7 separate regions of the Homo sapiens genome follow, and regions 1, 2, 3, 4, 6 and 7 are each linked to region 5. Evidence: promoter capture Hi-C in 16 types of primary human blood cells and fetal thymus (Javierre and others, 2016). All regions are on one chromosome and are shown on one strand. The core of a region is centred on a gene start or on the middle of the fragment in contact, and the rest is flanking DNA. Distances in the headings are between cores, read along the strand shown.

The links. The method cuts DNA at HindIII sites, captures the fragments that hold promoters and counts their contacts. A CHiCAGO score of 5 or more calls a contact.
Region 1: a fragment that was not itself captured here is called in contact with the fragment with the promoter of MEF2C-AS2 in region 5 in 4 of 17 cell types (naive B cells, total B cells, monocytes and 1 more); the score reaches 10.1 in naive B cells.
Region 2: a fragment that was not itself captured here is called in contact with the fragment with the promoter of MEF2C-AS2 in region 5 in 1 of 17 cell types (neutrophils); the score reaches 5.3 in neutrophils.
Region 3: a fragment that was not itself captured here is called in contact with the fragment with the promoter of MEF2C-AS2 in region 5 in 2 of 17 cell types (total B cells and naive B cells); the score reaches 8.0 in total B cells.
Region 4: a fragment that was not itself captured here is called in contact with the fragment with the promoter of MEF2C-AS2 in region 5 in 1 of 17 cell types (naive B cells); the score reaches 9.8 in naive B cells.
Region 6: a contact is called between a fragment that was not itself captured here and the fragment with the promoter of MEF2C-AS2 in region 5, in 2 of 17 cell types (naive B cells and total B cells). The highest score is 8.8, in naive B cells.
Region 7: a fragment that was not itself captured here is called in contact with the fragment with the promoter of MEF2C-AS2 in region 5 in 1 of 17 cell types (neutrophils); the score reaches 5.2 in neutrophils.

Annotation. Positions count from the first base shown.
Region 1 is chr5:90,396,148-90,398,856 of GRCh38, reverse strand. The region is part of intron 4 of CETN3 (centrin 3); the gene reads left to right. Among named protein-coding and RNA genes, the nearest start is that of CETN3, 12 kb to the left of the region's middle. The HindIII fragment of the contact is 442 bases long and covers 1,046-1,487 here.
Region 2 is chr5:90,599,962-90,602,911 of GRCh38, reverse strand. The region is part of intron 1 of ADGRV1 (adhesion G protein-coupled receptor V1); the gene reads right to left. Among named protein-coding and RNA genes, the nearest start is that of ADGRV1, 43 kb to the right of the region's middle. The HindIII fragment of the contact is 7,323 bases long and covers 1-2,950 here.
Region 3 is chr5:90,555,141-90,558,172 of GRCh38, reverse strand. No RefSeq gene overlaps it. Among named protein-coding and RNA genes, the nearest start is that of ADGRV1, 2.1 kb to the left of the region's middle. RefSeq lists an enhancer at 255-756. The HindIII fragment of the contact is 298 bases long and covers 1,375-1,672 here.
Region 4 is chr5:90,307,814-90,310,755 of GRCh38, reverse strand. No RefSeq gene overlaps it. Among named protein-coding and RNA genes, the nearest start is that of LINC01339, 19 kb to the right of the region's middle. The HindIII fragment of the contact is 151 bases long and covers 1,450-1,600 here.
Region 5 is chr5:88,674,750-88,677,511 of GRCh38, reverse strand. It overlaps MEF2C-AS2 (MEF2C antisense RNA 2), which reads right to left and starts at 1,294. Exons shown (of 4, transcript NR_146284.1): 1 at 1,249-1,294. All of the region lies in intron 1 of MIR9-2HG (MIR9-2 host gene), which reads left to right. RefSeq lists enhancers at 1,220-1,785, 2,223-2,322. The HindIII fragment of the contact is 5,913 bases long and covers 1-1,406 here.
Region 6 is chr5:90,532,864-90,535,888 of GRCh38, reverse strand. No RefSeq gene overlaps it. Among named protein-coding and RNA genes, the nearest start is that of LYSMD3, 4.8 kb to the right of the region's middle. The HindIII fragment of the contact is 7,271 bases long and covers 1-3,025 here.
Region 7 is chr5:90,497,838-90,500,725 of GRCh38, reverse strand. The region is part of intron 5 of POLR3G (RNA polymerase III subunit G); the gene reads right to left. Among named protein-coding and RNA genes, the nearest start is that of POLR3G, 24 kb to the right of the region's middle. The HindIII fragment of the contact is 1,997 bases long and covers 530-2,526 here.

The DNA of each region.
Region 1 (2,709 bases), core at 17-2,516, 1.7 Mb before region 5:
CAGTCTCTTGTAGTGTCCTAATTGCCCTTTCGGCATATAAAAGTCTCTAATCTCTTCTTCAGTCTCTTGGTATCATTCTTTTCCTAAAATATACATTTGATAATGCCATTTCTGTGTTTAGACACTTGAAACGATTCTTCAGTGCCTACAGAGTAAAGTTCAAAGCCTTCTATGATCTATCCCACCTTGAGTAACTGATTTTACTTTCCAGTGTATTCTTTCACTTTTCTTCTTTAACCCTCACCTCCTGTATGTACACATTTTGTCAACATATGCTATCCTGAAAACACATTTTTATGCTATTCGTTTCATCCTGCTGTTTCTTAATCTTAGAATGCTCTAATTGTTAATTTCTGCCTGCTAAAATGTGATTCATTCTCTCAGGTAAATATTAAACACCATCTTTTTCCCAAAAGCTTCCCATAACGCTCTATGAATCATGAGACTTCCATTGAAGGCCTATAGCATTTAGAGAAACAAATTGTTTTGATACTTTCATACACTTAATATGGAATCTTTTGGCTGGAAACTAAGTTTTGTTGAGATAAAAACCACTTTATTTGTATGTTAAACTGCTAAAGATTAGACCTTGCTGTCTTTTTTGTGGACTTTAGTGTTCTTCTCTCTTTGTGACTTTTTCATGCTTTTCAGTATCTAAGAGCAATGAAATTTTAAAAATATTGGGTATATAGAATAATAAACATGGTGAATGTGAAGTTAAAGGTAAATAAGATGTACTACAAGATAGACATAAAGCTGTGGTAATGATACAGAAAGAGTCACTTCCCCCTGCCCCCTCAACAGCATATATAAAATAAAACACAGCACATCTTTTGGAAAAAATGAAAGGAACGTTTTGAAAAGCCAGAATGGATAATCTTTTAAATAATGATGATGTTTTTTAACATTTATTTAGCAGCTACTATATTGGATATTAGCATTAATTATGTCACTTAATTTCCATAATAACTTGTAAAGTAGATATAGTATTATACCTATACATGTGTATAATAGATGCATATATAGAGATGAGGAAGCTAAAGCTTTGAGAGATTATTAATCTGCCCAGGTTATCACAAAGCTAATACTGTACATGGTAGAGCCAGAACTCAAAATCAAATCTCCAAAATGGCAAAGAATGTGCTTTTAAACGTAATATTGTATTGCCTTTCGGGCTATGAAGTAAAATATTAACTAGACTTCTATGTTTATGGAGTTTTAAAAATTACATGCTATTATAGGAAGCAGTGTATTAGCAACATACTCAGTTGGAACTTCCAATTCTAAGATTTGCTTTTCCCCTTCAAAGCCAGATGGTCTCTAAGGTACTTAATCTACTTAGTTCTGTAAAATTCTTATTGTTAGCAACTTGTAATAAGATTTGCTCTATGAAATGGTTGATGTATGAAAAATTTTGTTAAAGAAGGCAGTATAAAAGGAAACAAAGTGTCATATTTTCTTGATTCAATAAATGTTTTACCAAAGCTTATTTTAAGCTAGGCATTGTGGTAGATTTATTAGATATAGGAACTTGATATAAGATATTGTTAATAGAGAAGGTTATAAAATCAAATGCACAGAGATATAGAAGATTGTCTTTTAATTGTCTACAAGACAATTAAAGTAAAGTAGCTAGTTTAATTTCCTGAGCCACTTTCTAATTTTTACTTTCTTGGGTTTAAGTAGTGTGTTTTTAGGTATGAATCATGGAATTCAGTTGTCCCTTGATAAGCACAGGGGATTGGTTCCAAGTCGCTTAAGGATGCCAGAATCTATGGTGCTCAAGTCCCTTGTATAAAATGGCATAGTATTTTCATATAACTTTCACATATCCTCTTGTATACGTTAAATCATCTCTAGATTACTTATAATACCTAATACAATGTAAATGCTATGTAAATTGTTATACTTTATTTTATTTGTATTATTTTTTATTGTGTTATTTTCCCAAATATTTTTCATCTGCAGTTGGTTGAATCTGCAGATGTGAGGAACCTGTGGTTACAGAAGGCTGACCGTATTTTAAATACTTTTGAAATGCTATTATAGTTTAAAGTTTTTGTATATAAACAATATAAAAATTAAGTGTTTTGTGGTTTTCAAACTTATATATGAAACTTAAAATTTGCAGTTTGAGTATTGAAATTTTACAGATCAAGAAAAAGTTCTAGATCTTTAAGTAACAAGTACTTTTTGGATTTTGAATATTTTAATCATGGATGTATTACACTGTTAAAATGATTTGTAATCAAATCATTCTAAGGCTGTTTTATGTTTTTTCTCTTAATACAGTTCTTAAGAACATACTCTTGCTTCCTATTTGGTCTAGATGCCTCAGTCTAAATCGGGAGTTCTTCAGTGAAGGTGCACACTGGCTAAACTGATTAATAATTTTATATATTTGAACTGTATTTATTGGAAAGAGAGAGGGATCATAGCTTTCCTAAGATATTCAGACATGGCTATTTAACTGCAAAGGTTAAAGATCACTACATCAATTTGTAAGATTCTTGAAAGTAGTTTGGAGTATTACAGATTTTGTATTACGTTCTTACCATGTTTGTCATAGTGTTTTGTAGATGTTAAATACTGATTGCATGGCTTCATAGTTCCCTGTCAGCTTCTGGAGGGTGCATTTTTCCTAACTCATAGCTTATTTCTGTGAGGCATACACTATTCTTTCTTTGACTGTATTTCTGATGGTATTCT
Region 2 (2,950 bases), core at 365-2,864, 1.9 Mb before region 5:
CCACACCACTTTGCATGTGCCCAGTCTTTCTTCAGGCTTAAACACCACAAATCTTTTAACCACCCAGCTTCTGCTGAGCCACCACCATGTCTATTAATCATTTCTAAAACACAACAGAAATACAAAGCATAATACAATTTGACTAATTAAAGTCAACACTTTATTCCAGTTTTCTTCGTTTTTAGCTAATTTTCTTTTTCTGTTCCAGGATCACATCCAGGACACCACATTACATTGGGTTGTCATGTTTCCTTGGGCTCCTTTTGGCTGTGACATTTCCTCAGAGTTTTCTTATTTTTGATGACTTTGGCGCTTTTGAGGAATGTGGTCAGGTATTCTGTAGCATGTCCCTCAGCTGGGATTTGTCTGATAACTTTCTCATGATTAGACTGGGGTTATGGGTTTTGGGGAAGACCAAAAAGGCAAAAAGACTTTCTCATCACTTATACAAAAGGTACATACTATCAACATGACTTATCACTATTGGTGTCGAGCTTGGTTACCTGGCCGAGGTGGTATTTGTCAGGGTGCTCCACTGCAAAGTTACTCTTGCCCTCTTTTCCATACCAACTACTTTGGAAGGAAGTCATTATGTATAGCACCCCTCTCCCCTTTCGAAAATTTCTTACTGTTTTCCGTTAAATCAAACAAACTTACTTCCTTCCATCTATCTACCGACATATTAAAAACTGTACCAGGCATCGAAACATTGTCAGGATGTTGTATTGTAAATCTGCAGAATTTGGGAATGGAATCTAATTGGATGATGAATAGGATACACATACGGGAGTCTAAAAGAATTAATGGAATACAGGATCATTACAGCATACATTTATGGAGATGTGTTGCCAAAAGGCTAATTAACAATTTCAGATTTTCCTCTTCAAATATTCTCTGAAATCATGTGTCTACGTTCATTATTTCTTCTGTTAATAAGGCTCTTGATCATAATGTTCCAGGCTGTAGTGATGCCTGTATACCCTTATTGTCCAAGCCTCCAGCAATCCCCAAATGACTGCTGGTTTTTACTATATTTCCTTGGCTTCCTCAAGCAATTATAGCCTCCAGCAGTATCACTTGCAAACCACTTTCTAGCCATTAAAGCTATAAACTGTTACCCAGAATTTAGACTAATTGGCCAGTTGGATAATTCCAATCTTCACACTGAAAAAAATGCAGCAGAGCCTAGCATCTATGCCCTTAGAGTACTCTGATACTTACCAGCAGGGCAACTATGAGCAGGCTGTTAATGTTTGAGTCTATTGTTAACGTCTGAGTCTACTTCCTCTTCTGTAAAATGAAGTTATAAGACTACTGACTTTATTTGGTTATTTTGATCTGGGATTAAGTCCAATGTTTTTCTGTTTTCTAATTCATCAATTTCATTTTTAATCTTTATCAATTCTCTATCCTGATTGGTTTAGTACGGTATTCTTTTAAGATTCATAAATTGAAAACCAAGTTACTTTTTATTATTTAAAAGATACGGTTTTGCTTCATGTATAGTTTTGGCTGCATCTCAGGTTTGGTAAGTGGAGTTCCTAGTGGTATGATATTCTAAAAAGTCTGTTATATTATGAAATTCTAAAAAGCCTATTGCCACAGATATGAGTTCCTATTTAACACAAGGCTTATTTACAAGAATTCGTTTTCCCTTGCTGCTTTTTTTTTTTTGAGATGGAGTTTCACTCTTGTTGCCCAGGCTGGAGTGCAACGGCGTGATCTTGGCTCACTGCAACCTCCACCGCCAGGTTCAAGTGATTCTCCTGCCTCAGATTCCTGAGTAGCTGGGATTACAGGCATGCACCACCACGCCCGGCTAATTATTGTATTTTTTAGTAGAGACGAAATTACTCCATGTTGGTCAGGCTGGTCTTGAACTCCCGACCTCGGGTGATCCACCCGCCTCGGCCTCCCAAAGTGCTGGAATTACAGGCGTGAGCCACTGCGCTCGGCCGGGTTTTCCCTTGCTTCTAAGTGAAAGGATATTTTGAATGTTTTTTTAATGCATCTTTTTTTTAATTTTTGTTTTTAAAAAGAAGTAGGTCTTTATTTAATTTTGTTCACAATGTGCTGTTTTCTGGTTCTCACTTTCATTTATTACTTTTGACACAAAATGGAATTGTGTGAATTTACCAATGATATGAAGAAAAATAAACATTTTATTATTCTGGCTAAATATGTGGCAATTCCTCAAGGATCTAGAACTAGAACTACCATTTGACCCAGCCATCCCATTACTGGGTATATACCCAAAGGATTATAAATCGTGCCACTATAAAGACACATGCACATGTACGTTTATTGCTGCACTATTCACAATAGCAAAAACTTGGAACCAACCCAAATGTCCATCAATGATAGACTGGATTAAGACAATGTGGCACATATACACCATGGAATAGTATGCAGCCATAAAAAATGATGAGTTCATGTCCTTTGCAGGGACACGGATGAAGCTGGAAACCATCATTCCCAGCAAACTATCACAAGGACAGAAAACCAAACACTGCATGTTCTCACTCATAGGTAGGAACTGAACAATGAGAACAACTGGACACAGGGTGGGGAATATCACACCCCAAGGCCTGTTGTGAGGTGGGGGGAAGGGGGAGGGATAGCATTAGGAGAAATACCTAATGTAAATGACGAGTTAATGGGTGCAGCAAACCAACATGGCATATGTATACCTAGGTAACAAACCTACACGTTGTGCACATGTACCCTAGAACTTAAAGTATAATAATAAAAAATATATATGTGATGCTCAAATGAATTAGGCAGAGCTCCGGAAGATCACTTATGGTCCAACTAAGTACTACCTCTTTCCCATTTGCAAGGTATTTGCGTGTCATATTATCTATTGTCACTACCAGGAGCCATTTACCAAACTAAAACAAGATATTTAATATTTTTTAGACATTCAATCCCTTCAATTAACAATTTTCCA
Region 3 (3,032 bases), core at 274-2,773, 1.9 Mb before region 5:
CAACATCTGGGATAAATTGTCTGTCTCCTCATTTATAAAATAGGATTATTAATTACTCATAAGGCTGTTAGGAGTAGATGAATGAGACTGTGTGAAGTGCAACTCTTTACAGTACACCTGGCACGTGGTAAACCCTCAGCAAATGTTGCTTATCTTTCCCAGTACACAAAGGTAAAGGCTCAATGTCAGACCATACCATCAGCAATGTGCACATCCCCGCCTGCACCAGAGATTTTTAAAGCAAATGCAGCATTATTAGAATCACGGAAGTTTCAAACTGGGAGCAAAGAGAAAGATTAGCACTCCCACAGCAACTCACCGCTTTTTATAGAAAAAAAAAATGGGTTCTCAGCCTCCTCATTTTAAATGCAGCTCACACAAGTACTCTTCTTAATTGGAATAGGAATAACTAGATACTTTGTGTTACATACTGCCGTCCAGGGGCACTCATTTAGCGTTATTATGAGCTGTTGCTGAGCACCTCCTCTGAAAGCTGCAATACTCAACAAACAGCTGGGTATCAAACGGCAAGTTTGTTGAGACTAAATGATTCTTATACAGAAACCGTGTGGGAATGCAAATGACACATCAAGGCGCTGCAAAAGGTGGGGAGAATAGCAACCTAGGTGATCCAGGAGATTGAACAGCTTTCCTGTGAGGCTCAACAACAAAGGTCGGACCTGGGTCTGGAGGCTTTAAATCCACGAGCATATCAACGGAGTAGACACAGACAGACATGCTTACTAAATCCTGCCATATATGAACGGTAACTTCAAAGCAACTTAAAGTGAAAACTGTGAATCAATTATCCATGTAGTCACATGTAAAACAGAAAACAATAACAGAAAAATGTTTTCTTCCTGATTATTTAAAACGTCTTACTAAAATGTATATTCAACCCACAGTGTTGTTTTATTAGCGTTTGTAAAGGCTTTATTTGTGGCTAAATACCCTGGCAAAGTCAACGTCTACCAACCAAATATTCCATCTTAATTTTTGTTTCACCAAGTCCCATGATTAAACACATTCCCCACAACTGGACTTCCTCAGCTTGCATATTTACTTTGTGTATGACATTACCCTAGGCACTGTGATGAGTAAATGAAAATTTACACCCTCACCCAATCTACCTCAGGGAACTAGGTAATTAACAATTATTACTAAGTGTTTAGGAAGCAGAAGACTCTGTAAGGCACTGTGGGAAAAACAGTGATCTCTAAAACCACCCTAAGTTTATTAATTTGCACTCTTTCTGGGGTGAAAGTTAATCAACCGAAAAGCAGAATATGCCATGCAAAAAACAAGCCACTCAAGTGCTAGAAATCTCTAGGAAGAAGAGAGTGTATGGATTGCTGAAGGCTTCTCCAAAAAGCTTTGCTTTGAAGAATAAAACCACAAGAAACAACATAGTTGGTAATTGTGGTACAAATACTTGACAAAGTAGTGTAGATACTCTCAAATGCTGAAATTATTAAACAAATGCTCATTGAACTTAAATCCAAACTTCTTAACATGGACCAAGAGACCTCACATAATTCTATTTCTCTTTTCTTCTCCAGCCTCATCTAGTACCACTTTCCCTCCATTTCACTGTATTCCTATCACACTGACGCTTCTTTCTTTGTCTCAACCACAGCAAAATCATTCCTGCCTCCAAGACTTTGCACAAGCTTTTTCCTCTGCCAGGCACACTGCTTCTGCAGAGCTTCATATGGCTGGCTCTTTCTATCATAGACCTCATTTGAGGGGTAGCTCAACTATCTCTTCCTTGGAAGCACCTGCCCTGATAACTTTCACCGCCACTCTCAGCCACTACCCTCTTCTATGTAATTTCTATAACTTATCCCTAATAAATATCCCATTTACTTATTAAGATATTTAGGTGTTTTTGTCTCCCCATAAAAATGAAAGCTGCATGGGGGTAGCTTGCATGTCTCTGTCATTTGCTGCTCTATACTCAGTAGCTAGAATAGTCTCTGGGATATAGTAGAAACTCAGTACATGAAGGAAGGAAGGAAAGGAGGAAGGGAGGGAGGGAAGAGGTAAGAAGGGAGGGATGGAAGGAAGGGAGGAAGGAAAAGGAAGGAAGGGCCTGAAAGCCTGTCATATTAAAAAGTTTCCCAGAGCCCATTTTTCATTTCTTTATATTTCACAATCCAACCTTACAAAACATAAGACTTGATCCCATGTAAAATACAAATATGCCTGAATCAGAGATACTTTAAACCTCATCCATCATTACATCTTAGAGATCCTTTGTTCTTCAAAGGCTTTGATTTAAAAAGAAAGAAAGAAAAAAAGAAAGGAAAAGCATTACTAGGCACCTGGAGGTGGGAGGTGTCAGGTGCCACTGAGAGATAAGGGTGTTGAAAGGAAAGCTTAAGGTTCTAAAGACAAAGCCCAATTCCCAATTCTGCCTAAAAGCAACAATGGTAGAATGTAAGCCTTTTCTCCTACAGTAATCTTCATCAAAATCAACCCAGTAGCTCCAAATTTCACACAGTAAAGATAAATTAGTTTTCTTAAACCCAATAAGAAAAGTACTGATGTCATACAATTTTCCTTCCTATTCCAATTTAATTAGTCTTGCATACTAAGTAAACCTTATAAATCTTGTGAAAAGATCTTTATATTCCCTTGAAAATGGTATTTTTTTATATCCTAGGTTTCACATATCTAAGTTTAGGCATGCGTAAAGGAATTTCACCAAAGCAGCAAAATCAAGTTCAGGCAATATCTACTCTCTCTTACCCCCCAAAAGTAAAAGTAGGATAATACTTCGAGAGTACCCGAATCTGCCTTTAAAGGCTTTTTCTGTTTGGGCCCTAGGTCCCAGATAGGAAAAGAAAAAGTAGTGATTGTCAGGAGCCACGGACTTGAACTCCTCTTTCTCTCCCCACTCTTAAGTTCAGACCCACCTAGAATCTAAAGATAAAATAAGGCACCCAGTCACATCAACAGTCCCCCAACCCCACTGCATTTGCACACTAATATGTAGTAACATTCTCCATAGATTTTAGTTTATCATTTTA
Region 4 (2,942 bases), core at 276-2,775, 1.6 Mb before region 5:
AACCCTTCCCCATTACACAATCAACATCTTACCAACTTTGCCAAAAGTGACTCAAAACAAAAATAGGAATCAAATTTTTTAACGCTTGCAATCTTTAATAGGAGGAAGGAAAAGCAAGTAATATTGTCATTCACATTTGCTGCTGGCAGAATACTGCAAATTAAAAACAATCAAATGACTTTCTTAATGTTGAGGGCAAAGATTAAAAAAAGGAATACACATGATGAGAAATCTTACAAAATAAACTACTTCTGAAAAATTGAGAATATTTAAAAAGCCTTTTGGATTATCCTATAACCTGAAATTGAAGAAACGTTAATGACAAAAAGACTTGTTTTGTTATCTTTACCTCCACAATATCATGGTAAGCATTATAGACCAGTTAATCTCTACATAGTCTACTTATACCATAATTGATTTATTATGTGGTTATATTAGCTCAATTTCTTTTTATTTAGAAATTGATTAATCTCAATTTTTTTGTTTTTTAAAGTGTGTTTTATATTTTAAGTCTTTTATGTTAGAATCATTTTTTATTAAGATAATATTTTTTAAATAATTGAATATTTTAAATAATTTTTTATAATTTAAATTAGGCTTTCTAAAGTGTTACAAGTAGGCCACCGGCCACTGTGTCTTCTTTTGAGGCAGGGTCTCGGTCTATTGCCCAGGCTGGAGTGCAGTGGCGTGGTCTCAGCTCACTGTGACCTCTGCCTCCTGGGCTGAAGTGATCCTCCTGCCTCAGCCTCCCAAGTAGCTGGGACAACAGGTGTGTGCCACTGCAGCTGGCCAATTTTGGTATTTTTTTGTAGAGACAGAGTTTCACCATGTTGCCCAGGCTGGTCTTGAACTCTTGGACTCAAGTGATTCTCCTGCCTTGACCTCCCAAAATGCTGGGATTACAGGTGTGAGCCACCATGCCCGGCCGACCAGTGTATCTTAACTGGCTTGTTATGTTTCTGTGTTAGTCCACGGGCTAGACTTCAAAGAGTTTATCTCTCTCAGTTGAAAATTAAAAATCTATTTGGAAAAAGTTAGTCAAGTCTATCCCAGAACTTGTGTAAAAACTTGGGTAGTGGTGTCTCACATCATTGATGTACCTCTTTCATAATACCTTTGTGCTCTTCCATTTAGTTAATTTCCTTTCCTACTGGAAGCCAGTAAGAAAAGCATTTATGTCCAACAGAGACAGTACAAGACGAATTTATTCAATAGACAATTTTCTCCCTCCTCCCTCCCTCTCCTTCCCTTCTTTCATCTTTTACTTATTCATTTGTTCATTTATTTGTTCACCATACATAGTATCATAACTAAGGAAGAATACTTTGCTACTAGCCTATTCGTATTTGCCAGAAAGTTAGCAAATATTGACAGAAAGAGAAGGCATTTAAAAACAAATACGCATGCAACTTTGGATAACATTAATAAGGTATGTGTTTAAATGAAGCTTGTCTTCTCCAGAATATCTTATGATTTACTACCTCAGAGATAAACCTCATGTCACTAAGAAAACATCCAGATTCCACTGGGACTGAGTAACCATACTAGATTTCTGTTTCTTGCTTTGACTATTCTTAGAAATTTCATTAATGTTTAAGCTTTTAAAAATTTTACATTTCATAACAGTTAAAATCCAAATTCCAAGGTCATACCTGTAGAGAATTAATTGTTATCCTTTTTCTTGGGTGAAGAAATAAACTGGGACAAAGTGCACTGAAATATGGAATGTAATCTCTGGGTGGCAGCATGTATTCACCAGCAAAAAGTCCTTACTAACTAATGTTATTTCCATTTCTTTATGAATTGCTAAATTGGTGGGTCAGCATTATTCCATGGTGTAGAGTGTCTTGGTTATTTGACAACCCTCTTCACATACTTTTTGAACGGGTAATAAAATGTGAAATTGGTGATAACACAAATAACTGGAAATGCATATGACTGTACAACAAAATGCAAAGAAAATTGGTTGATTAATGCACCAATGTTAGTTTCTGAGACTTTCTCTAATGAAATTTTCTAACTTTAGTTACTCAAACATTCTTTTTTATGGTTTTGGAAATAGGCTCCAAGGTTATAAAAATTAACAATAATATTAACTTTAGGTATAATGGGTATGCCTCAATTCTGATTGAAAATTAAAACTCTTTGGAAAGAGGTACTAAAAACAATTAGTTAACATTTTCAGATATTAACGTAAAGTCCTATGATTATTAAAGTAATATAAAATGTCAAAAAATGTGATACTGAAAAGACCCTAGCATTATGGTTAATCCTAAAACCACTCTGAGATTTGAAAAAATGTGTTGTAACTGTTAAGGTGTGCAATTTTAGGCTGTGTTAGTTGAAGCATGGTGTTAGCCACGCTTATACACTTTAATAGGGACATTATCATATGAGAGTGTCAAAGAGAAACTGGGAAGGTATAGCGTCTGGAAAGTATGTTATAAGAAAACAACTGAAAAATCTTTGGTTTGGAACCAAAAACCTGGGTACGTGGAAGGAGTGTTTGAATATTTGAAAACCTATCATGTTGGGGGAAAAATAGACTTTTCTTTTTTTGGCTTCGGAATATTCGGTAGACAGCATGGGGCTGCTAACTGTTGAAACAGGGAAAAATTCTGATAACAATTAGATCCATTCAACAAGGAATGACTATTACTGTAACTCCTTATCACTGACTAAGGGCACTCAACGATAATCCAGATTGAATGATCATCTGTCAAGTGTTGTAGAAGAAATTCTATTACTAAAAGCCTCCTAGAGCCCTCTATTTCTTAAGTTTCTATATCTACTTTCAGATATTTAGTGACAGGCAAAATAATCAAGATGAGTGATTGCACTTTTACTTTTGCATTTGATTTTTTTTTTTTTTTTTTTTGCAGAGGAAGTCACTGTTTGGCACACTCAAATTGTTAAACAGGCTCTTTCATAATGTTTTAAAG
Region 5 (2,762 bases), core at 45-2,544:
AACTAATTACCTGTGCATGTACTTGGACTTGTTTAATTGAATAAGCTGCATGTGTGCATACTTGCTGTTCTTTCAGGGTTTGCAATTATAGATTGAGTCTTTTTTAAATGATAGCTTGGGGGAATTAAAAGGTGGAAAAAAGCCATCGTGCTGCATAGCTATATTGCCAAGAAAGAGAATCCGATCCTATAAACAAGATTACCATTGCTTGAAATCTAACTCAAGGCCTGTATATTTTAAGCCACATCAACTGGTTTAATATAGCCAATTGTTTTATTTGTGTATTTGCTTTCATTTCAAAGTCAGGAATCAAGGATGCTTTTCAGTCAAGATAATGTGCCTTGTTTCCAGCCATATTAAGATAAAAATGAAACTCAGTAAATTTTGAATGCAGCCAATAAGGTACAACATACAACATGGTTGAAAATGTCTTCCTTGCAGAAGGCTGTCCATTGCTGTGTCTACCCATTTTAAAATATATATATTTTTTTCAATAAGAAATGCTAGAAAGCAATAGGGCGGGGAATGCCGCACCTCTCAGGCAATCAGCACAAAAATTATTTAGAAATCTTTGGAATCACTTCACTTATACATACATTATCTCGAAAGCACTGGCCCCGAACTGTGTTTCTGCTAATATGAAGTTAATTAGACAATCAAACTTTGAGCCTTGAGCGATGGGCACTACAGCCCATCAAGGTATGTCAAGAAAGAAAAAAAAATGTGTATTTTCCTTTATGACCAAACCAGGAGGTTATACAGCTGGCATTGCATACATGACAGATGTGCATATTTGTAACCTTAAATAAACAGAAGCAGGGAGGTAACTGTGTATATTATCTAGCAAGAGACAGCAGCAGACACTCGCCAAAAAAGACAGAAAGGGACAAGAGAGACACATAGACATAATAAAATAACAACAATAAAAATCCTCCAAAAAAAAAAAGAGGGAAAGGGAACCAATAAAATGACAAAATCTGAAATTCTCGCAAATTAAAAAATGCAAATATACCTTTACATATGCATCAGTATTAAAAATAATACACGCTGGAACCAACAGGAGCGAGAGCAAGAAGAGGAGGAGGAGGTGGAGGAGAAGGAGGAGGAGGAGGAGAGGTGGAAGAGGAGGAGGAGGAGGAGGAGGAGGAGGAGGAGGAGGAGGAGGAGGAGGAGGAGGAGGAGGAGGAGGAAAGAATGGAGGCGCCGCGGAGCCCTGATTATGCATGGGCTGGAGCTGCCTCCTCTAACCTGTTCTTCTCCGAGCCGGGCAGCCGGCGGTCCTCAGCCGCCCACAGAACAGGAGCCGAAACAACCGTTCTCGAAGGCTACAGCGTTTATTTTTCTCTTTTGGGGGGTTTTGGCGGTTGTTTCAGGGGCTCGCCAACTGGCCCCTTTAATTAAAAGCTTCAATAAAAGGCGATCGCGCCAGGAATGCACCCGCTCCTCTTCGCGCAGGATTTGCATATTTTTTTAATGCCCTAATTTCCTTGATGTATGTAAATGTAGCCGGACGTAGAGGGAGACAGGGAGCTGACGTCAATGGACGTGACCTCGCAGCTAAACCTTGAACGTGAAGCCGGGATGGGGGAAAACACGGAGCGGCAGCCGGCGGAGCCCGAGAGCGCGGGCGGCGGCGGCAGTAGCCGAGCCCAGGCCGGGGTGCCAAGGGACCAGTGCCGGCCCCGGGGGAGGACAAGCCGCCGCCTTCTTTCTGCACCGCGCGGCTCTCAGACTCGCCAGCCTTCCGGCCGCACACGCAGACTCTTGCCCTGAGCTTCCAGCCCCACCACACACACGTTCTTTTGCTTCCCTCAGAAAAGCAACACTCCCCAAAACAACAAACCAAAATCAACAGATAAAACAGATGTTTTAGACCAATGCTCGGGTAGCTTATCAGAAAGAAGACTCTGACCACGGAACATATATATTTTTTGGCTTCTCTCCACAAGAAGAGGAGCGAGAGACCACAGACAACAGCAAATCACTCCTAAAACACGATAACTACAAGTGCTCCCTGTAGGGAGAGGTAAATCGCCCAGCCGACTGGTGAAGTCTTCTGGTTTCGGTACCTATTTACCTGTGCACTCATTATGCGCCTCGGCTTCATTAACGGCAGGATCATGAGCGCGCGTTTTAATGTGATGGGAGTGCTGTGTTGTGTGTGTGTGTGTATGTATGTATGTGTGTTGGGAGGTGCTTGCGCTAGTGAGCACCGAGGCAGGCGCTCTGAGCAGAGAGAGATCAGTCTTTCCATGGCCACGTCTGGGACTCATCTGCGGAGCCATCTAGGCCAGGGCTCCTAGATTGGGGTTCGACTTCACCCCATGTAAAAAGAGAGGCCAGCAAAGGCTTCCCCTGAACAGCCAGGTCCTTCCCATCGGATTGTTTGAGGAAGGAGGCTTGAAGTGTGAGCCATTCTGTAGCCGCCGCCTTGCCGGATTTGGCCTGGTGTTTTGCACTTGAAACTCAGCGGCCTCAGCGCGGAGGTAGTGCCTCTCCGAGACGCGGCCGAGGCCTTGTCATTCCCCTCCTTCCGCCCGCGGCAGCCCTGCGCGCCGGCGTGTGCGTGCCCGCGCACCGGACCGCTGGCACCTCCCTGTGCACATCCGCCCCCTCCTCTGCTCGCCCCCTCCTCTGGGGCAGCTAAGAAATGGTCCTCGGCCTCTTCTGGGCCGGAGGGCAGATCTACGAGCAGGCAAGAAAGGGGCGCCGGTGGCTGTGGTGGCGACTTCTCCGCTCTGCCCTCGGCCGCCAAGTGTGCC
Region 6 (3,025 bases), core at 323-2,822, 1.9 Mb before region 5:
TTACAGGCATGAGCCACCGCATCTGCCTGCAATTGCCTCTTAACTGATCTCTCTGCTGCTGCCCTAACCTTCCTATTAAATTCTTTTAAAAGGTAAATGATGACCTCCTCTGCTCAGAACCCTCCAGTTGTTTGCCGTCTTGCTCAGAGTGAAAGCCCAAGTCCCTGCAGTGGCTAACAAAGTCCTATCCCATTTGGCTCTCTGTGGGCTCATCTCCCATGGCTGTACAAGAGTAACCTGAGTGCAAGTGATAACCCAGTGAACAAGGCAAATAACTTCTTAGAATTATTGTGAAAGTACTTGAGGACCCTACTAAGGAGTCTTGGGGATTGGCAGGGGTTCTGAGATCATACTTTGACAACACCTTGTATAGTTATCAAAATGTCAGTTTTGCGCAGACTGCCTTAACTTTATACATGTTGAAAGTGGTTGTTGTTACCATTCTTATCATAATCCTTGCTTGTGTTTTCCAGTCCTTTAGCAATGCATTTGAGTGCTGTCATTACACACATACAACAAGCAACAGCAGTCTCTACTTGTAGTTTTTATGAAACCAGAATTTTAATGAGTAATGGCAGATATTGAGAAAAAGGTGAACAAGGCTCATGGGAGGTAACACAGAGCAGGAGGAAAAAATTTACTATAAATCCTTTTGTCTATTTTCACCATATTCATTTCGAAACTCTATCCTGTTCAGTTGCTAAAACCAAATAAAGTCAAAGGGCTAGCGTATCTATTTTATTAGAATAGATTACGCAATGCTTTTATGGCTTTGCCTTACAAGCAATCCTAATATTTGTATACAGTAAAGCCATTCTTTTTAAATATAATGCCTTCTATTGCATCAGCATTACATACAATGCCTATAAACATTATCTTATACAAAGCCAGGAATAACACACAAGAAATTTTCCTTAGAAGATTGGTGTAGTAATATTTATCTTTCAATGAAATGACTGAAACAATAGAATTAGAAATCTTTATAAAACAAGTGTTCATTTATATTGTTATGTGATATATAACCAAATCTGTAGTATGATCTTAAGGACAGGGTAATAAAAGGAAAGTTAATCAAGTTTCAACTAATATAAATTGATTATTCTACAAAATAACAGATTAGATTTTAAACTGAAAAATACTCCAAAGAAAAATAAGTACTTTTCAAAACAACAAATCAAAGAAATGAGCTTCTGTATGTTTCTTACTAACAGATTGCTCATTGATTAGTATATACATTTCCAAACACATTTTTCTGCATGGAAAGGAAGGAAGCCTCCACGACCCTTGCTATATACCCCATCAAGTAAGTCCAAGTGTAAAATGTTTTTTGAAATCAGCAGGCATTCTTTGCTTCAAATAATTCTGAAGGGATTTAGAAGCCAGATAGGATTAAGGCTTGGAATAAGGGGAAAAAATTCAGCTCAATCTTAACTGTAAATAAAAGAAAACATGGTGAGAGGGCAGAATGGAAACTTTACTTAGATCCAACAATTGCTACAGTGGTAAATCTGGCTTATTTAGAATTAATGTGGAAAACAGGCCCTAGTACAGAGTCACTAATCAAAGTATGCAAGAAGGAACTAGTGAAAAATATCTTTAAAACTAAAATTGAGCATCCTCATAGAGTCGGGGGCTTTGAAAAAATTCTTAAATCAAGTATTTTTAACCCACATCAATGTGATACTTGATGTTTTTCCCTAATTTGAGACATCTTCCCTCTTGCCTGAATTACTACAATTTCCTCTTAACTGATCTCCTTGCTGCTGCCTCCACTTTCCTATGGGATCCTTTTAAAGGGTAGATGATGACCTCCTCTGCTCAGAACCCTCCAATCGTTTCCCATCTTGCTCAGGGTGAAAGCCCAAGTCCTTGCAGTGGCTGACAGAGTCCTTTCCCATTTGGCTCTATCTGACCTCTTCTCCTACTGCTCGCTGCTTCGGCAATCTGCTCCAGCCATGCTGGTATCTTTGTTGTTCCTCCAATACTCTAGGCACAGTTCCTCTCTCAGGGATAGAGAATTTTCATAGGGTGGAGACTCTCCCCCAACCCAAAACACTGCAGCTCCTACCCTATTCAGTGTTCCTCCATTCACTTATCACCATCTAACACAATTTCATTTATTTATTTTGTTTTTATCTTTCATCACAAGAACATAAGCTCCAAGAGGGCAAAGATTTGGGTTTGTTTGTTCATTGCATGTCCCTGATGCTTTATTAAAGCAGGATTTGAAACACAGTTGCTGCTTAATTAACATTTGTTGAATGAACAGATGTAATTTCTGTCTATATTTTGTCAGATAAGCAACTACCTTCATTTTAGGTATGCATGTACACCTCACTATTATTCTTTAAATGAGCACGGAAGTTTTGCTTTTGAAATTCTTGCTTGGTTTTGTCAGATAGTGTTGACTAAGCTGAGGATTGTCACAGAAGTGGTCTCTATCTGGAAAGACCTAGACTAGAAAGAGAAGATGCTGTTGCCTCTCCCATTATCCTTTTATTCTTCCCCACTCCCTATCTTTCCTGTCTCTGTGAATGCACTGCTGAAGACCTAAGAAATCAAACTGGACGTCCACTCTCTGTACTCCATTTTGACTTGCTCTCCACTTCTGGGTGATCACTATCTATCATCACCCAATTCCATAGACTGGGTCATGCCTCAGGTTTTCCTTTGGTTTAGTGAACTTAATTACATACTGTCTTATCATCTTAAATCTCTGGAGAAGTAGGCACGAAAACAAGCAGGATGCAGGTTCTGGGGGAATTCACCTGCACTGATTTGCCTATGTGACAGTAGTGATTATAAGAGACATGGGAAACAAAGCATTTCAAATTATAGTCTACTTAAATATAAAGATGTAACTGTTCCTTTCTACATGTACCAACCACCTAGCTAAAGAGTATAAGGATAGTATTTGTGAGGCTAGTTTTCATCGTGTCTGCATGGATGAAGACTTGAAGATGGTTGTTTTCAAGTCATGTTTAAGATCCATGAATTAATTACTAGCATTTATAAACAGCTTTGG
Region 7 (2,888 bases), core at 279-2,778, 1.8 Mb before region 5:
GTGTTATACTGAATTGCCCCTTGGGGAATTACTGAGCTCAGAGCTCCCAAACATATGTATTAGTGAGGTTTCTCAAACAAAAGTAATAGTTAGATTTAATGATGGGTAACTTTCTCTGACCCCCTCGAGGGCAAAGACTGTTTAATATGAACTGTAACACATAAAATATAGCATCACATATGAACAAGATCTCAATAAATTATTATAATATTAATGCCAAAAAACATTAGCTAAGAATGTATTCTACTTACATCATGAAGTCTTTTTCTAAGAACTTTTTATCAAATTATTTAATTTCATAACATAAACCTTTGTTGAAGGGATACTAGAGAATATGGCCAGGTAAGTAAACTTATTTTTTTTTTCCATCTTTGGCCAAGTATCTGCATATATTTGAATAGTTTCTTTTAACACATGGCAGTAGCTGGTTCTTCAAGAAACAACTGTTTTCAGCCTTTGACTCTGTTGTTACTGTTTACTTCCATGTAAATTAATGGAGGACATCTTAACATAAAGGACAGTACAAGCTTATCAGAAACAAGACATAAAAATTACACAATATGTAATAAAAAATACTAGAGCAAAATGAGAAAGTTTCATTGTTGCTTTGTTTATTAACAAATGGAAATCCTGACACTTTGGGAGCTTTTACTGATTAATGTGGGTATAAAATCCCAGGGATAACATATTTGAAAACATTAACTCTTCCAAAATGAACACATTTTTCTCAGCTTTAAAGTCAACTACAGATGTGTGATCCTCTAGGACATGACCAGTATCATTCATGCACATGTATTTTATTATGAAAATAATATATTTGCCCAATAAAAACCAACGGTATAAAAGACAGAAGATAAATTGTCATATTTCAAAATATTCTTTATGCAAGCTAAATATGATTATATACTGTATCTTTAAAATAAAATAAAAATACTCTGCCTTAAATACACATGTGCAAAAAATGTAAATTGTGTATGTACTTCAAATATGTGCATTGTATTGTATGTCAATTATATCTCAATAAAGGTGTTAAAACGGGGAATAGGAATTCCTTCTCTTCTCTTCTCTTAGTTGATAACCCCACTGTTCTTAACCTCTCTGACTACCTTCCTTTTTCACTCTTCATTCTTCATAGCAAAATTCTAAGAAGACTCATCTATGCTAGCTGTCTCCATTTCCTAAGCTCCATTTACCGGTTAAGCCATTCCAATCTGGATTCTACCTCAGTGAATCTTTCAAAAAGCTCTCACTGAGGTCACAATAACCAACATGTCAAAAACGAGTGAACATTTTCCAGTCTTCGTCCTATCTGACCTCTTAGCAGCAATGTCTAACATCTTTTAACATTGTTGACCACCTTCCGAAATACCAGACTACCTTGTGTAACTCTGCTCTCCTGGTTCTCCTCCTCCCTCTCTCTTTCCAGTTCCCTTCTTTGCCATTCAATCTCCTCTACCAGCCCATTAAATGTTGGCATTCCTGTAAGCTCAGGGTTAGGCTCTCCTTTCTTCTAATTATCTAATTCTGCCCTAGACCATCTCATCCTTTCTCTTGGTCTCAATGATCATATCTCTGATAATGACTGCTATCTCCATTTTGAGGTCCATTCCCCTGTATCCAAGAATATATTTAACATTTATATTTGTATATTTCAAAGGAACCATAAGTAACATCTTTGAACTGAACTTCTGATTTTCTCTCACAAACCTGGTATTTCCCTACTTCCTCTCCCACAACTATGTCTCAGTAAACTCCTATTCATCCTTCAATCTCAACTCCAATTCCATGTCCTCAAAGAACCCTTCCCAATGAGGACAGTGTGTTTTTCTTTAGTGATTTTACCCCATTTGACTACAAGCTCCATGAGGACAAGGATTATTCCCACTTTGCTCAGTTTTATTCCTGTCAGCACAATGTCTGGCAATAATAGATAACTATTTACTGAATGAAATTACTAAAGAAAAACAAACTGTAAACATTCACTTTGGCATTCTTCTATACAACATAAAGCTCCATTTTATTGGTTTCCCAATTTTAAAATGTTTTAGTTAATAATTTATAATGTAGCCAGTATAATAAAAAATCTGCAGTTATGCAAATGAAAAGGTCTACAATAATTGAAAAGTCTTTCTTAGCAGCTCCACAATTCCATAACTAAAGGAAAATCCTAAGTGAATAAATGCAGGAACAGAAAACCAAATATTGCATGTTCTCACTTATAAGTGGGCGCTAAACACTGAGCACACATGGACATAAACATGGGAACAACAGACACAGTGAACTACTAAAGTCGGGAGGGGAGGACGGGGTGGAGTGAGTTAACAAACTACCTATTAGGTAGTACACTCACTACCTGAGTGCAATATACCAATGTAACAAACCTGCACATGTACCCCTGTATCTAAAATAAACACAGAAATTTAAAAAAAGATAAAACATTTAAAAATTAAAAAATAAGACATACACAAAGAAAAGGCAACAACTAAGAAAAAAAACACCCAAAAGACAAACAACAAAAAACAAGCTTTAGCAAAATAGTTATAATGCATATATATACACACACACACACATACATGGGGGGACAGAGAGAGGGAGAGAGTCAGTGTCCTAGACAGAGTGTCAGGGTCTTGCTCTGTCTTCCAGGCTTAAGTGCAGTGGTGCAGTTTAGGCTAATTGCAGCCTCTGCCTCTTTGGCTCAAGTGATCCTCCCACCTTAGACCCCCAAGTAGCTGGGACTACAGGTGCATGCCACCACACTTGGCTAATACTTGTTTTAACTTTTTGTAGAGACAAGTTCTCACTATGTTGCCCAGGCTGGTCTCAAACTCCTGGGCTCAAGTGATCCTCCCACCTCAGCCTCCCGAAATGCTGAGATTACAGGCATGAGA